Linked DNA regions of Homo sapiens: region 1 is linked to region 2. The links are contacts of gene promoters, found by promoter capture Hi-C in human tissues and cell types (Jung and others, 2019). All regions are on one chromosome and are shown on one strand. Each heading gives the region's core, a stretch centred on a gene start or on the middle of the fragment in contact. The rest is flanking DNA. Distances are from core to core; before and after follow the strand shown. Region 1 overlaps LOC107984358 (a long non-coding RNA gene). Region 2 holds the start of OR2AT4 (olfactory receptor family 2 subfamily AT member 4).

What was found. Contacts are between HindIII fragments. The study calls those that stand out against the background at their distance.
Region 1: a fragment that was not itself captured here is called in contact with the fragment with the promoter of OR2AT4 in region 2 in 1 of the 25 tissues and cell types used here (pancreas).

The regions. Positions count from the first base shown.
Region 1 is chr11:75,136,150-75,139,250 of GRCh38, forward strand. The region is part of intron 1 of LOC107984358 (a long non-coding RNA gene); the gene reads right to left. Among named protein-coding and RNA genes, the nearest start is that of SLCO2B1, 13 kb to the right of the region's middle. The HindIII fragment of the contact is 3,555 bases long and covers 1-3,101 here.
Region 2 is chr11:75,095,441-75,098,873 of GRCh38, forward strand. OR2AT4 (olfactory receptor family 2 subfamily AT member 4) reads right to left here and starts at 1,436. Exons shown (of 2, transcript NM_001405852.1): 1 at 1,388-1,436. RefSeq lists a cis regulatory region at 1,295-1,810. The HindIII fragment of the contact is 12,596 bases long and covers 1-2,228 here.

The DNA of each region.
Region 1 (3,101 bases), core at 516-3,015, 41 kb after region 2:
CTTGAATTGTACTCCCATAATTCCCACGTTTTGTGGGAGGGACCCAGTGGGAGATAACTGAATCATGGAGGTGGTTTCCCCTCTACTGTTCTCTTGGTAGTGAACAAGTCTCATGAGATCTGATTATTTTATCAGGGGTTTCCACTTTTGAATCTTCCTCATTCTCTCTTTGCCTGCCACCATCCATGTAAGACGAGACTTGCTCTTCCTTGCCTTCTGCCATGATTGTGTGACTTCCCCAGCCAAGTGGAACTGTACGTCCAATAAACCTCTTCCTTTTATAAATTGCCCAGTCTCAGGTATGTCTTTATCAGCATCATGAAAAAGGACTAATACAGTAAATTGGTACCGATAGAGTGCGGCATTGCTGAAAAGATACCCAAAACTGTGGAAGCGACTTTGGAACTGGGTAACAGGCACAGGTTGGAACAGTTTGGAGGGCTCAGAAGATTGCCCAGTCTTGAGTATGTCTGTATCAGCAGTGTGAAAACAGACTAATACAGAGGCCTTATAATTCTAAGCCCGACCTCCTCCAGGGAGCCTTCTGTGACTTCATCTTCCTCCAGGCTCCAGTGCTCTTTCTCTCCTCTGGATTGACCAGGCCTGGCTGCCAATGCTGCCATTTTAAAGATTAAGATAACTGAGGTTCGTTTTTCATTCCACATTGAATAAGGCTGGCTTTGCACTGGGTGCATGGTCACAGGGAATTGACACAGTCTAGTGGGGTAGCCAGCCAAAACCCTGTCCATCATATCCACTGTGATCTGTGCTACCATAGAGCTGAAGGGCCCAGAGGAGGAAACAAAGCGACTTGCATCATGGAAGACATCTCTTAAATGGGTCATAAATTTCAAGCAGATGAATAGAGTGCAGGCCACAAAGGAGGGGGTAAACAAAGTCATGAAGTGTAGAAAAAGCAGGAGGTGTGTTAGAGGGGAGATAGAAGTTGGTTTGGGCTGCAATATAGAAGGAGAGACTGCGAGTCTCCAAAGATGAGGCTAAAGAGGTTGGCAGGGGCCAGAGGGAGGAGAGTCTTGAAGCCAAGAACAACCCTCAGCATGAGGACATTGGAAAGCCAGAACCAGGGCTCAGACAGAGGGCTAAGATAGTCAGCTACATGTTTGAGAAAGCTCATACCCACTGTGGCACGGGGAATGTCTTCGAGTAGGAGAGAGAGACCAGAGGCAGGGCAACCAGCCAGGAAGCTTGGTGGTGAGGAGAGGAATAGAGAGGAGTATTAATGACAATGATAGCAGATGATGGCTGCCCTTTATTGAGAGCTTACTTGTACTAATGGCTGTGCCCTGGTAGTCACATACTTCATTTCATTTAATCCAAGGAGCAATTTCCATTACCCTTGTTTTATGGATGAGGGAGCTCAGAGGGTTAAGTAACTAAGCCTGCTTTGGTCATTCTGCTGGATAAATAGTGAGTTAGTGTAGAGTCCAATCCATCTCCAAAGCCATGCCTCTTAACTATCAAAGCTTAGAGAATCTGGCTGGGCGTGGTGCCTCACGTCTGTAATCCCACTTTGGGAGGCTGAGGCGGGTGGATCACTTGAGGTCAGGAGTTCGAGATCAGCCTGGCCAACATGGTGAAACCCCAACTCTACTAAAAACATAAAAATTAGCCAGGGGTGGTGGCACATGCCTATAATCCCAGCTACTTGGGAGGCTGAGGCAGGAGAATCTCTTGAACCTGGGAGGCAGAGGTTGCAGTAAGCCAAGATCAAGCCACTGCATTCCAGCCCAGGCAACAGAGTAAGGAAAAAAAAAATTTGGAGAATCTTCAAGAGGTAGAATAGTCAGAATTTGACAACTGATTATGGAAAGGTCCAAGATGATGCCCAGTATTCTGGTTTGGGTGACGAGACAGATGGTGGTGATGTTGACTGATGTCTGGAGCTCAGGAGAGAGAGTGGATGCAGGCAAAGACTTGGGAGGCATATACTTATGATAGTGAACAAGATCACCTAGGGAGAGAGTGTAGTGTGAGAAGGACAGAACCATGGGGGGAAACAACATGAGACTGAGGCAGAACAAGAAATTTCTGTAAAAGATACTGAGAAACAACAGCCAGAGAGCGTGAAGCAAAACCAGGAGAGTGTTATATCACAGAAGCTCCCTAGGGCAGCTGTGGTCAGCAGCATCAAATGTTGCTGATGTGCCCAAGAGGACAAGAATCGGATGAAAAGTGTCTGTGGGGTCCAGTGATGAGGGGATCACTGGTGCCCCAGGTGTGAACAGGCCAGTGGAACAGTGAGCGTGGAAGGTTGGGAGTGAGTAAATGGAGAGAGAATAGATAACATCTTCAAGATGTTTAGCTGAAAAGAGATGTGGATGGTTGGAGGCTGATGAGATGTGTCCTAGGCAGTTCAGGGTTTTATAACAAAATACCTTAAACTGGGTCATTTGTAAACAACAGAAATTTATTGCTCACAGTTCTGGAGGCTGGGAAGTCCAAGATCAAGGTGCCAGTGGATCCAGTGTCTGGTGAGGGCTGCTCTCTGCTTCATAGATGGCACTTTCTAGCTGTGTCCTCACATGGTGGAAGGGACCAACAAGCTCTCTCAGGCCTCTTTTATAAGGGATGTAATCTCATTCAAGAGGGCTTTACCCTTACAAACTAATCACTTCCCAAAGGCCCCACCATTAAACACCATCACCCTAGAGGTTAGGTTTGCTTTATTAAAAAAAAGAAAATTTTTTTTGTAGAGACAGTATCTTGCTATGTGGCCCAGGCTTGTCTTGAACCCCTGGCCTCAAACAATCCTCCTGCCTTAGCCTCCCAAGTAGCTGGGAGCTGAGACCATGCCTGACCTTTTAAATTTTAATTTATTTATTCACTCATGCATTCATTTTTTTTTTTTTTTTAGATACAGGGTCTCACTCTGTTGCACTGGCTGGAGCGCAGTAGCACCATCATAGCTCACTGCCTCAAACTCCTGGGGTTAAGTGATCTTCCCGCCTCAGCCTCCCATATAGCTGGGATTACAGGCACATGCCACTATGCCCGGCTAGTGTTTTCCATTTCTGTAGAGACAGAGTCTCACTATGCTGCACAGGCTGGTCTTGAACTCTGGGCCTCAAGCAGTTCTCGCA
Region 2 (3,433 bases), core at 186-2,685:
TTCTGTTTGTCATTATTATGATTACACCAGGTTGTCTCTGTCTATTTATGTGTCCACCACACCAGGAGCACTTTCAGAGCAGTAATGGGGTCTGATCGTTTCTATTTGATACTGCACCATCCTTCCCAGGAGCTTAGTGCTCTGGAATGCAGCTTTCCAACTTGCCTTGTTTTGCTGATAAATCATCAAATAGGAATGAAGGGGCCATTAGTGATTAAATAGTTTTCACCTAACCTCTTTTTTTTTTTTTTTTTTGAGATTGAGTCTTGCTCTATCACCCAGGCTGGAGTGCAGTGGCACGATCTCGGCTCACTGCAACCTCTGCCTCCCGGGTTCAAGCGATTCTCATGCCTCAACCTCCCGAGTAGCTGGGATTACAGGCGCTTGCCACCATGTCCGGCTAATTTTTGTATTTTTAGTAGAGATGGTGTTTCACCATGTTGGCCAGGCTGGTCTTGAAGTCCTGATCTCAAGTGATCTGCCCGCCTCGGCCTCCCAAAGTGCTGGCATTTCACCTAACCTCTTTATTATATAGATGGGGACAGAAAAGGGAGTCCCAGAAATGGGCTGTGACTTTCCCAAGGTCACACAGTAAGTGGGTGATAGAACTAGAACTAGACTGTCAACAGAGCTAGATTATCAACTCACCTTGAGCTCTCCTGGACCAGCTCTGCCACTCTCTTGCTGTGATGCTGGGTCTCTGAGCCTCAGTTTTCCCATCTATAAAATGAGGACTTTGGAAGCAATGATCTCCAGCTTGATAAATATTTTGAGTATCTACTCTGTGTTTAGATAAATGAGAGATTCGAAGACAGATGTGTCATGGCCTCAGCCTCTTAGGAAGGAGAGCAAGGGCGCTCTCATTTGTTAAGCTTCTGTTGCCTGCTTGATTCTTTACAGTCATTACACATCATTACGACGCCCAAACTCATGCAGTTCTCTCATGATATTCTCACCATCCTGCACTGTTTCCATAGAAAAGGAGCAGGATATACGTGAAGCACAGAATCTAGGTCTATTAACTTTGCAGTTAGAAAGGCCTGAGTTTCCTTCCTGGCTCCACCACTTTGTGCTTTCCTCCAATGGACTGCAATTCCCTCACAAATTATTCCCATTTCTCTTATCGTCATCAGCTTTGCCTCCTTGTGAGGAATTCTCTTCCAAGATCATTAGCCTCTTGCTTGTGACTGCACAGCCCTGCCCCTGCCTGCGAGGGTGTCTGGTCTACACTCACCCAGGCTGACTGCGTGGTTGACTTGGATCCTGGGACCCTGACATTCCCAGGATCTTTACTGTGGTTGTACATGCCCCCAACCTCCCTGAGCCTATCTCCCCATCCCAGTCTCTGCCTGCTCTGCGCACTCCATCCCCAGCCCAGCTCACCTACCAATCCTGGTCCGCCTTGATGTCTTGTGTAGAGTCGTCACAGTTGGCCTTGGTTGGGAAGAGCCAGGTAGAAACTCAACCATGGCCCTTTAAACCCTCGGGCCCCTCTCTGCAACCAGGCCTGCTGGGGCTCTCTCCCCACAAGAAGGCTCACCCGTGGGACCAGATAACTGCCAGTCAGCTGAGAACAACTTCCGAGGGTGGAGTGGGGGACTTTGTTCTGGGCTTTGCTGATAATGAAAACAACATCATTAACAACCCTCATGGGTCCCAGAACTTTATCACCAGTATTATTCCTGTTTTCCCATCTGGTCCTCACAATAGCCAGGGAAGACAGGCAGAGTCAGGATTATTTCCACTATTTTACATTTGAGGAAACTGAGATCTAGAGAAGTGAGGTGACTTGCCCAAGGTCATATGAGTGGCTGGTGGCAGAGCTGGGATTTGTACCCAAGGCTCCAATTCTGGTTCAGTGGTTCAGCAACATGTTATCTAATGACTAAGACCCGAGTTATTCCCAGTAATATGACTTTGAACAAATCCCTTAACCTCACTGGGTCTTCATTTTGTCATCTGTGGAATGGGTATAACGACACTAACTCTCTCACAGGATAACTGGGCAGGTTGAGGTGCTTCACCCAGTTCCTGCCACTTATTAGGCATTCAATAAGTGGGAGCTATTATTTTAATGGACCAAAGCAGTAAAGCCTTGTTCAATGAGTATGTGATACTTCCGCTGCTGTGCAATGAGAACTTGCAAAGGTTTTGTGGAAAGAATGTGAGGGTGGAAGTCTCTGCCCCAACCCCATACAGGACAAAGTCAAGAGTCACAGACTCTTCCTGCCTCAATCTTTCTGATTCTCTCCTTTGGCTCCAGTGTTCTGTTTCTGACTTGACTGACTTGGTCACTCCTACTAATACTCATAAAATTTTAATTTTTTTTTAATTTCACAAGTAATAAACAGAACCTCATTGTAGAACATTTTAATCAATACAGAGCTTTACTGAGTCAAAAGTGAAAGTTCTAGGCCGGGTGTGGTGGCTCACGCCTGTAATCCCAGCACTTTGCCGGGCCGAAGGGGGAGGATCTCTTGAGTCCAGGAGTAAGAGAGCAGCTTGGACAACTGGCAAAACTCTATCTCTACTGAAAAATACAAAAAAATTAGCTGGGCATGGTGGCATGCACCTGTAGTCTCAGTGAGAGGTGACAGCGTGCTGGCAGTCCTCACAGCCCTCGCTCGCTCTCGGTGCCTCCTCTGCCTGGGCTCCCACTTTGGCGGCACTTGAGGAGCCCTTCAGCCCACCGCTGCACTGTGGGAGCCCCTTTCTGGGCTGGCCAAGGCCGGAGCCGGCTCCCTCAGCTTGCAGGGAGGTGTGGAGAGAGAGGCGCGAGTGGGAACCAGGGCTGCGCCTGCGCTTGCAGGCCAGCTGGAGTTCTGGGTGGGCGTGGGCTTGGCGGACCCCACACTCAGAGCAGCCGGCCGGCCCTGCTGTCCCCAGGCAATAAGAGGCTTAGCACCCGGGCCAGCGGCTGTGGAGGGTGTACTGGGTCCCCCAGCAGTGCCAGCCCACTGGCGCTGTGCTCGATTTCTCTCTGGGCCTTAGCTGCCTTCCCGCGGGGCAGGGCTCGGGACCTGCAGCCCGCCATGCCTGAGTCTCCCACCCCCTCCCTGGGCTCCTGTGCGGCCCCCGCCTCCCCGATGAGTGCTGCCCCGTGCTCCACAGCACCCAGTCCCATCGACCACCCAAGGGCCGAGGAGTGTGGGCGCATGGCTCCGGGACTGGCAGGCAGCTCCACCTGCAGCCCCGGTGCGGGACCCACTGGGTGAAGCCAGCTGGGCTCCTGAGTCTGGTGGGGACGTGGAGAACCTTTATGTCTAGCTCAGGGATTGTAAATACACCAATCGGCACTCTGTATCTAACTCAAGGTTTGTAAACACACCAATCAGCACCCTGTGTCTAGCTCAGGGTTTGCGAATGCACCAATGGACACTCTGTATCTAGCTGCTCTGGTGGGGCCTTGGAGAATCTTTGTGTCTAGCTCAGG